Regions from separate parts of the Homo sapiens genome. Here region 1 is linked to region 2. The links are contacts of gene promoters, found by promoter capture Hi-C in blood cells and fetal thymus (Javierre and others, 2016). All regions are on one chromosome and are shown on one strand. Each heading gives the region's core, a stretch centred on a gene start or on the middle of the fragment in contact. The rest is flanking DNA. Distances are from core to core; before and after follow the strand shown.

The links. The method cuts DNA at HindIII sites, captures the fragments that hold promoters and counts their contacts. A CHiCAGO score of 5 or more calls a contact.
Region 1: a contact is called between the fragment with the promoter of BTG3 here and the fragment with the promoter of RWDD2B in region 2, in 1 of 17 cell types (fetal thymus). The highest score is 6.0, in fetal thymus.

What each region holds. Positions count from the first base shown.
Region 1 is chr21:17,608,865-17,614,213 of GRCh38, reverse strand. BTG3 (BTG anti-proliferation factor 3) reads left to right here and starts at 1,313. Exons shown (of 5, transcript NM_006806.5): 1 at 1,313-1,515; 2 at 5,062-5,242. The coding sequence starts at 5,070. It overlaps BTG3-AS1 (BTG3 antisense RNA 1), which reads right to left and starts at 2,528. Exons shown (of 1, transcript NR_149073.1): 1 at 100-2,528. It also overlaps a transcript of CXADR not described here. The HindIII fragment of the contact is 7,083 bases long and covers 533-5,349 here.
Region 2 is chr21:29,017,012-29,022,154 of GRCh38, reverse strand. It overlaps RWDD2B (RWD domain containing 2B), which reads left to right and starts at 2,806. Exons shown (of 5, transcript NM_016940.3): 1 at 2,806-2,944. The coding sequence starts at 2,878. LOC124905005 (a long non-coding RNA gene) reads right to left here and starts at 4,569. Exons shown (of 2, transcript XR_007067836.1): 1 at 3,908-4,569; 2 at 827-3,242. RefSeq lists an enhancer at 2,716-2,965. The HindIII fragment of the contact is 4,408 bases long and covers 1-3,851 here.

The DNA of each region.
Region 1 (5,349 bases), core at 64-2,563, about 11 Mb after region 2:
TTTAAAATAAAAACACCTTCACACCTCCTAGAAGACTCCAAGGTGTAAATATCCTCTTTAAATGTACCAGTAAGTAGACTAAGTCCTAGAAGAGTATAATTTTTTTTTTTTACAAATAAAGTTTATTGTACTGTTTGGGGGATGGTATATTTATTACTGCTAAAAAAATTACCATTTTGAATTGCTAATTGGCTATAACAAAGATCAGTAATACAAATTTAAAACATTCATAAAACTGAGCTGAAAACATGCTCCCAAGCCTAGTGGGCAGTAAGGAATCTGGCCAATATACTGTACAACTTGAACATTCAGTTCTTAAGTAGTTTACAACATGGTTTAGCCCTCTTTTAATAATAATAATAAAAAGGTAGGAATATCTTGTATTCCTCCCGCTAGTTGGATGTATTAAAGTGCTTTCACAAAACTAAGACCATGGTGTTAACTCAATATAAAAGGTTGAAAAGATGTTCCTTCTTTTCTTCAGAAAGTTAATGTTCCCTCTCCATATTTGTATTTGCTCAAAGATGAAGCTTTGCATCTGGGAAGTCCTTGAGTAGAGTGTCTCAGAAATAGAAAGCCTGGACTCTCAAGGCTTCATTCCTTTGGCCAACATCTTTGGAGCCTCTCCTTTATGCAAAACACAGTGGCCGGTGCCAGGGCAGCACACAAGCGTCCACAGGAGGCAGGCCCTGCTGTGAGGGGCCAGGGAAGGGCCCAACTAGGAGTGCCAACAACCGCCTAAAATACAGCAGGGCGGCTGCACGGTTAACGTGCGTGTAATTGACTACAGCAAGAAGGATGAGGATCTGTCCATAAATGCCAAGTTCCCCTTCCCGTCGAGTCCGTGTCCCCCATGAAGCCCCGGGTCTAGAGAGCTGGGTCTAGAACTCGCCATTCCGCCCTGAGGGTGTCAAGTGCAGCGTGGAGAGACCTGAGGGGGAAACAAAAAGGCCGAGACAGCCGAAAGGACCAAGCCCGCGCGACCCCCGAAGGCGCTGACGCACGTAGGGCGGCCGGGCGGGGGTCCCACAGGCCTTCAGCGCCGCTTTTTGCCGGGGAGGGAAGCCCGCGGTTCTGCGGACCGCGCCGTCGCGGTCGAGGGTCTGCGCCAGGCTCAGGGTAGGGCGAGGGTGTGTCGCCTCCCGTGCGGCTAGGCCCGGGGCTCGGGGGTGGCCTCGCGGCGAAGCCCCGCCCCCGGCACCGCCCCTCAGGCGCGCGAGCCGATCCCGCGCGCGCCAACCCTTTCCCGGGTCATCGCCCCTCCCCTCTTCCGGGCCGCGAGCCCCCTGCGCGCCGCTTTGGGGCTGCGCTCACTCGTGTGCGCGCTCGTCCGCCCGCCAGTCCTCTCAACGCGCGCTTGGCCGCCCGACGACGCGGGAGCCGCACGCGCCGGACGAGGCTCGCTGCGCTCCCTGTTGCCCAGCGCGGGCCCGTTGAGGCGGAGCCCTCAGTTCCCGGCCAGGACACGGTCTGGGCCGCCGAATCTCCGGCCGAAGAGCGGCGGCGGCAGCGGCGGTGAGGAGACCGGGCCGGGGAAAGGCAGACATGGCGGGGCTGTGGGTATCGGGGGAGGGTGGTCCCGTCGCCCCTGCGGCCACGTCGAAGGCTCGCTGGCGGGCGGCGCACCGGGGACAGGGGAGGGGCAGGGGATGGAACCAGGTTGCATGGGCTCCGGCTCGGCGCCAGAGCGGGGCTGCGGGCCGCGAGGGCGGCCCGCGAGGCTTTCCGCGGGACCCTCGGCGGGCGCCTGAGGAAAAAGACGCCGCCTCAGGGCTCCTGCCACGTTTCCCACAGCGCGTTACATTCCGCCTCCGGGTGGGCGACAACCCCGCGGCTTCCCACCCTCTGTCCACCCCCTTCGCGTCGGTGTTTTTTCTGGAGCTCCGCTTGTTTGCTGGAGAGTCGCGCCTCCGGGAAGCCGGGTCCTCGAACCCAGGGCCGCCCGCCGGGGACAGCGGACCCGCGGGGCAGGCGCACCCTGGCGAGGATGTTGTCGGGGAGGCTGGGCATTGGGCGCCAGGGCCCTTCCCCTTGAACTTGGGGAAAACCGGGATTGCAGAAGTTGGGCGCAGCTCAAGGCGGTTCTTTCAAGAGCGGGTGGAGATGTTTGATCCCTCCTCACCTACCTCTCTCAAAACCCCAGCGGGAGAGCCTAGCAGCAGGTTTCGATGGCTTCAGAAAGTCCAACTCTTAGCCCCTTGGAAAATTATTTCCCCTCTTCATGGCTTTGTGGCGCCGCTGAGGTCGGGCCGGGGCTCCTCACCCCACGGGCCAGTCTTCTCGCGCCCTCCACCTTGGGAACGTCTATCAGGAGAAAAATGTGTTCCTAGAAACGTTTGCGATTAGCTTTTCGTTACAAGGGAGGGAAAAGTACAAAAGTTATAAACTCCTGCGAGGCCGAGCTTGATTCTGGATTCCCTTTGGGTTTTATCCACGCAGCCGTGAGCAGAGGAGCCTTGTGGAACAAAGTAGAACTTGAGGAGCAGCCGCCGCGGTGACGAGGTCCCAGGATGACGTCACCGTGCGATATTTAAAATGGGAGCCTTTTGCTCTGAGTGTGGGTGGAGGACGCCTACTTACTCAAGACGCCTGAGGTCTTCTTGGCCCTGCTTGCCTCTGGTGGTTCTTGCCCTGACTGTAACTCTCCCTCTTTCACCTTTTGGTACTCCTAGAATACTGGTGGGAGTGGGCTTATTTTTCAGCTGTTCGAGCTATCATTTCTTCAAACGGGGAAAACAAAAGTCCAAATGAGTCATCTTGTGTTACAACCAAAAGCAACCACTAAGTGGTTCTTTCCTTCTTTTCTATTTTTTTATATGAAGCAGAGCAAACAGAAACAAATCCAGAACTCAGATATGTGGCACATAGTTGGCAAATGTAATGAATGAGGAGAAAGATCTAGTTAAAAGATTCAGTACATTTCTTTAGTGTGGTTCCTTGTTTGCTTTGCTGGAGTGGAGGCTAATGTAGTTCCATCAGCAAAACTTTCTTCCCAACCCGTATATTAAATTGCCTTGGGTTTTCTTTTCCATCGTATCGTGGTGGAATATAAACGTAGCTTTACAAAGTGGAAATGGCTTACATTTTTCAGGAGGAGGCTGCACAGCAGTCGTGGTGGGCTGGGGTTATGTATACGTGTACACTCGTGTGTGGACCCATGCCCGGTGCCTGCTAGCTGGCTGTAGAAGGTGAATTTCTCATTCTAGGGTTCTGGGAGGAAGATTTGTGTGCCTTCCCCTCCATCAGGCTATCTGCGGCTGCCAGCACACCTCTCAGATAACTGTGTAGAATTTATTTCACAGTGAGGTTCCTTGTTTGAATTTGCACTTGGAATAAAGGAGTCATATTCTGAAGAGAGACTGAAAGAGCAGTTTGAGAAAAGAAAGCTAACAATCAGCTTTATTTTTTTGGAAATGTGGGAACACAAACTACTGCTAGGTTAGTTGTTTTTATGCTAAACATAGCAGAGGCTGTATGTTTTTAATACGTAATTGGCTCCCAAAAAGGTGATGTTGCTTACTAAAGGCAGCATCTTAATAACTCCAGGTTACAGCAGCCAGATGAATGAGCTCACTGAGTAGAGACAACATACATCAAAACAATCTTAGGACAAGGGTTTGCCCTTAAGGATTAATCAATGATAAATCAGATATACCATTTTTAAAGTCCTTTGAGGCAATCCAAAATGTAGCTAAATCTCTGATTATTTCTTTTAGTTTGTTTTTCTGCGGGTGACCTGAATTTCCATTTCTTAAATATGTCCTGATAGATCCACTAGTTTTTGTGTCTCTTAACTTGTGGATAAATGTATCTCTCTTCCTGAAAGAGTACTTTCGGAAAGTCAATGCTGAAATTTTTTATGTAGAACAGTTTTGGGATTTAATTTATATACCATGCAATTCACCCATTTAAAATGTACAGTTCAATGGTTTTAGTATATTCACAAAGTTGTACAACCATTACTATAGTGAAATTTAGTAAATATTTTTATCACCTCAAAAAGTAACCCTGTACTTATTAGCAATGCTCCTTTTCTTGGTTTCCCACTTCCCCGTAGGCCACTAATCTGTCTTCTGTCTATATAGATTTGCTTATTCTGGATATTTCATATCAATGGAATCGTACAATATGTGGTCATTTGTGACTGGCTTCTTTCCCTTAGTGTGATGTATTCAAGGTTCACCCATGTTGTAGCTTATATTAGTACTCATTCGTTTTAACTGCTGAATAATATTCCATTACATGTATATACCACAGTATTTGTCCATTCCTTAATTGGTAAACATATAGATTGTTTTTACTTTTTAGCTATTATGAATACTGCTGTGGGCATTTCTGTGTTCAAGGTTCACCCATATTGTAGCTTGTATTAGTACTCATTCCTTTTCATTGCTGAATAATATTCCATACGTGTGTATAACACAGTATTTGTCCATTCTTTAGTTGGTAAACATATTGTTTTCACTTTTTAGCTATTATGAATACTGCTATGGGCATTTCTGTACAAGGTTTTGGTGTGGACATATGTTTTCATTTCTCTTGGGCAAATAGAAGTAGAATTGGCCGTGTCATATGATAACTCTGTGTTTAACCTTTCTAGGAACTGCCGAACTTTTCTGTTATAAAATAGCTCTACAGTTCTAGATTTTAAAGTAGACTTTTTTTATGTTTTAAAGTTCAAATCATTTCACAGAATTTTAAACTTAGATTATTGCAGCTAAATATTGACACACACAGTAACATCTATGTCGTATCATTTATTATAGTGCTTCTCTTTTACTGATAGGTGTGGTTTTATTTTAGCCAACAGGAGCAACGTGCTATCTTTATGGAATTTCTTCATGAAGCTAAGTGATAAGATTTTTAAGTAGTATTTTATAATAAGGCCTTTATGGCATAAAGATAAGTAGATTGTTCTCTACTTCAGATATAAGCCAAAGAAATACAAGATAAAATTGGAAGGAGGAAGGGGAGAGCTGTAAAGGAGGTATATCTTACAGAGCTTCATCTTCCCAGTTTTTATATTTTGTTTTTCTGAGAAAACATGTTTTATCTTTGCAGGGAAAAAAATGAAGAATGAAATTGCTGCCGTTGTCTTCTTTTTCACAAGGCTAGTTCGAAAACATGATAAGTTGAAAAAAGAGGCAGTTGAGAGGTTTGCTGAGAAATTGACCCTAATACTTCAAGAAAAATATAAAAATCACTGGTATCCAGAAAAACCATCGAAAGGACAGGCCTACAGGTAAAGGATTAGATTGGATTAAGCAGAGGCTGATCAACCCCTGAGGTGGGTTCAAGGCCGGATGATTGAAGGGTGTGCAGACCATGCCTACAGGTGTTTCATCTGCA
Region 2 (5,143 bases), core at 1,557-4,056:
TTTATCCACTATCTGGTAATTTTCTTTCTTTTTTTTTTTTTTTTGAGACAGAGTCTCACTCTGTTGCCCAGGCTGGAGTGCAGTGGTGCAGTTACAGCTCACTGCAGCCTCAACTTCCCAGGCTCAGGCAATTCTCCTACCTCAGCCTCCTGAGTAGCTGGGACTACAGGCCTACAGGCACACGCCCCCACACCTGGCTAATTTTTGTGTTTTTTGTAGAGTTAGGGGTCTCTGTTGCCCAAGCTGGTCTCAAACCCTGGGCTCAAGTGATCCTCCTTGGTCTCCCAAAGTGCTGGGATTATAGGCATGAGCTATCATACCCAGCCATAATTTTTTTTTTTTTTCTTTTTTTTGAGACGCAGTTTTGCTCTTGTTGCCCAGACTGGAGTGCAATGGCGTGATCTCGGCTCACCACAACCTCCGCCTCCCAGGTTCAAGCAATTCTCCTGCCTCAGCCTCCCCAGTAGCTAGGATTACAGGCATGCACCACCATGTCCAGCTAATTTTTGTATTTTTAGTAGAGACGGGGTTTCTTCATGTTGGTCAGGCTGGTTTTGAATTCCCAACCTCAGGTAATCTGCCCGCCTTGGCCTCCCAAAGTGCTGGGATTACAGGCATGAGCCACTGTGCCCGGCCCATAATTTTCTTTTATTTTTACCTTTATGTTTAGCCCTCTTCATACATACACAGAAATGTGCAAATATAAGCTCTTTGAGAGATGCGACATCTTTGTCTTGTTCATGGCTATAATTAGTACCTGGAAATGCCTGGAATATAGTAAGTGCTCGATAAATATTTATTGAAAAGAAAGTCATGAGCAATAAAATGCTATATAAGAACGTTCACAGCAGCTTTATTTATAATAGCCAAAAAACTGAAGACAGCCCAGGTTTCTATCAAAACAAGAATGGAACTGGTATATTCATATGATGGAATACTACTGAGCAATCAAAAGAAAGTGATACACATGATATCAGATGAAAATATTACCCTGAGTGAAAGAACCCTTACACAAAAATATCTATTGCATGACTCCAACCATATGACGTTCTATAACAAGAAAAATAAGTATGGTGGGGGAAAAAATCAGAACAGTGGTTACCTTTGGGGAGAACTGGTTGGGAACTAAGAAAGGGCATGAAAGAACTTTCTAGGGTGATGGTAACGTTCTATATGTTAATATGGCTTGAGTTCCATAGGCGTGTGCATTTAAAAACTGATGTGTATTTAAGGTATGCATTTCATTTTTACCTTAAAAAATCCTTAATTTGAACTCCAATGATGTGCATTAGAGGTACTTAGAAGCGTACTGTCTGCAGTTTACTTTTAAATGTATGAAAACAGATAGATTGATGAGGTATGTGACAAAGCTGGTAGAGTAAAATTCTGTACTCTCCAGGTCAGTGTTTTTCAACCTCAACACTATCAACATTTTGGACCAGCAAATTTGTTGTTGTCGGGGGATGTCCTGTTCATTGTAGGAAGTTGAGGAACATCCCTGTGCTCTACCTACCCCATGCCAATACCATCCTTCCAGTTGTGACAACCCAAAATGTCTTCAGACACTGCTAAATAGAGGGGAAATCCATCCTTCCCCTTCTCTTGAGGTCTGCTCCACTGTAAAATTCTCTCGACTTCGCTTTACACTTGAATTTTTTCATAATAAATGTTGGAGGAAAAAATAAATTATGACATTGAAAAACGCTCATGAAACACTATGCAGAAGACGTAGTTTATGAAGACCTACAATACATACTGTCGTATTTTTGTTTAAAAAAAAAAAGTGGAGGGGAGACCTAGCAGTGATATTTAGTATTGCTAAATGTCAATGTTTACAAATCTTATCTATGACATTTCTAAAATGAATATTATAAAGTGTATTGCATATAGTTGGATTGGGAAGAAAAACATTTCTAATTATTCTCCTGTCAGCATCTCCTTCAAACTACCCTTTTATTAACAGGGATAGATATGCATTCACACGGTTCCTCCCAGCTTGGTTAATGGGCAAGAACACCTAAGATAGCCAAGGCCACCATGCATCCAGGCTCACATCTCCCTAATTGCCCTCCTCCATGATTCAGGGACAAGGAGGATCACCATCGTGTGGGAAGATACTAGAAATGTAGAATTTGGAACCCCACCCCTACCTACGGAATCCTGATCTGCACTTCAACAGGATCCCCGAACTATTCCTAGGCGCGTTCGAATTTGAGGAACATTAACGGACCAATTCTTTGTCCCTGAAAAGTGCCCGTTATAGAGGCGGCCGCTGGGAAATGACAACGGGGTTGGCATGGAGAGGTATTAAGTAGAAAAACTCCGGCCGGGCACGGTGGCTCAGGCCTGTAATCCCAGCACTGTGGGAGGCCGAGGCCGGTGGATCACCTGAGGTCAGGAGTTCGAGACCAGCCTGGCCAACATGGTGAAACCCCATTTCTACTGAAAAATACAAAAATTATCTGGGCATGGTGGTGGGCGCCTGTAATCCCAGCTACTCGGGAGGCTGAGGCAGGAGAATCGCTTGAACCCAGGAGGCGGAGGCTGCAGTGAGCCGAGATCGCGCCACTGCACTCCAGCTTGAGAGACACAGCGAGACTCCGTCTCAAAAAAAAAAAAAAGGAAGAAAGAAAGAAGAAGAAGAGAACTCTGCGACTGAAAAGTACCTAGCAGGGACAACGCATTCCCTACGTCCTTCCAAGTGCAGACACCAACACCGGCGGACGCGGCTCCCAACAGGCGAGCCCCAGCTTCCGGTCCGCGGCCTTGGACGCGCATGCGCCGCATGCTTTTTTTTTTTTTTTCCGGTAGGTCGCCAGCTGAGGCGGTTTGTAAGTTTTGGGTCGCAGTATGCTAGAATTTTGAGGCTCCCTTCTGATGAAAATTGAGCTGTCCATGCAGCCATGGAACCCGGGTTACAGCAGTGAGGGGGCCACGGCTCAAGGTGAGTCTCGCCTCAGCTAGCGCCAGTGGTGACCGCCACGGGGGTTTCCCACGCTGCAGCGCCCAGTGCAACCCTTTGGGAACGTGCCCGGCATGGCGGCCCCGGTTCCCCTCACTGCATGCGCCCATCGGTCGGCTCGGTCCTCGGCGTTGCTTCCCGGCTTCTGCAGCCCTGCTCCAGCCGGGGACCTCGCCCCGGGGGCAATCAGGGTGCGAGGGCGGCTGCGTGCTGGGCTTTCTTCCTGAGAGCGTCTTGGCTTGGGTCGCGGGGTACCCTGCTCTGTTCTTCAAAAAAAAATCTGCAAGGAAAAGATATTATTCCACTCAGAAATCTCAAGTTTCAGTCTGCGTTCTCTTAAATATATTTTATTTTTTAAAAAAATAATAAAGGCGAGCTCTTACTATGTTACCCAGGCTGATCTTGAACTCCTGGGCTCAAGCAGTCCCCCTTCCTCTGCCTCCCAAAGTGCTGGGATTACAGGCGTGAGCAATCGCGCCCGGCCACAGTCTATTATCTTACAGCATTCGCTGAAATCTTGAATCATAAAATTATCTTGAGGGTTTTTTGGAAGGACTGAAATCTCTTAAGCGAAAATAATTTGGCAGATAAATGACCTGTGACATCACTCCCGTAGTTGTCCGTTCAAGAGTCCCTCCGTCCCGTTCTTCTTTGCTAATCCCATTTCATCTTCGATACCTCCAATTCAATAGCACCCTCTCCCAACTTTACTCACTCCCTGGGAGACTTTAAACAAATATATAGTTCCAAATAAGTGTTGACTCCCAAGATTATATATCTAGCTGAGTCTCTCGTAGACTTCAAAACTATACATCTAACTGCCTGCTAGACCTCTCTATTTAACAGGTGTCTTAGTAGGCACTTCATTACTTGTGTCTAAAACCAAGCTTCAGCTCCCCATGACCATCAACGTCTAAATAAATGGCAGATCCATACTTTCAGTACCTTAAAGCCCCGGAGTCATTCTTCCGTGTCTCATGTAATTCATCTGTAAATCCTGTTGCCTCTGTTCTCTGCATGTATCCAGAACCTGAAGCTCACCAACTTGACCACTATAATCCTATCAAAGCCACCATCATCTCTCCCTAGTTATTGCGGTGTCTATATCTGGTCACCCCACTTTTCCTTTCACTTTTCTCCATAGCAGCAAGTGTGGGGATCTTCATAAGTCAAACCTCTCTTGTAGCTCTTACATGTCAGTCGGGATAAAATTCAAAATTCTGGCCATGCTTTACTAGTCCCAACATAAACTGCCCCACATTTCCTTACTAAACTCTTCTATTCCCCGTGTCCTCAGCTCACTGTGCTCTGGCCAGCTGTTCTAGCACCCTCCTTCCTCAAGGCCTTTGAATATGCTGTTCGCTTTCCCTTGAACACTCTTGGCCAAGAAAAACACATGGCCTCCTTTTTCAGTTCCTTAAAGTCTCTTCCCTACAGTCACCTTAGGAGAAAGGCCTTTCCTGACAATGCTGTGTGCAGTCTCACCCCTGCTGCCTCATTGTTTCCCTTATCCTTGTTTTCTTTTTCAGGTTTCTTCATAGCAGTTATTCACTGGGTACAAAAATTCTTTTTTGTTTTTTTTTGAGACAGTCTTGCTCTGTTGCTCTGGCTGGAGTGCAGAGGTATGATCTTAGCTCACTGCAACCTCCGCCTCCCCAGTTCAAGCGATTCTCCTGCCTCAGCCTCCCTAGTAGCTGGGACTACAGGCGTGGGCGACCACACCTGGCTAATTTTTGTATTTTTAGTAGAGATGGGGTTTCATCATGTTGGCCAGGCTGGTCTCAAACTCCTGACCTTAGGTGATCCGCCCACCTCATCCTCCCAAAGTGCTGGGATTACAGGCGTGAGCCACCACCGCACCTGGGCTGGGCGTATAAATTTGTTTTTGATGTCATGGTATCCTCCCACCAGTAGAGTTGTTTTATTACTTTCATTCATTGTTATCTTAGTGCCAGTGCTTGAACGTAAGTGCTTGAGAAACATTTGTTGAAATGATGACCAATAATAATAATAGTAATAAGCAGCCGGACACGGTGGCTCATGCCTGTAATCCCAGCACTTTGGGAGCCCAGGGCGGGTGGATCATGACGGCAGGAGTTCGAGACCAGCCTGGCCAACGTGGTGAAACCCCGTCTCTACTAAAAAACCCAGAAAGCAGAGGTTGTAGTGAGCCGACTCTGC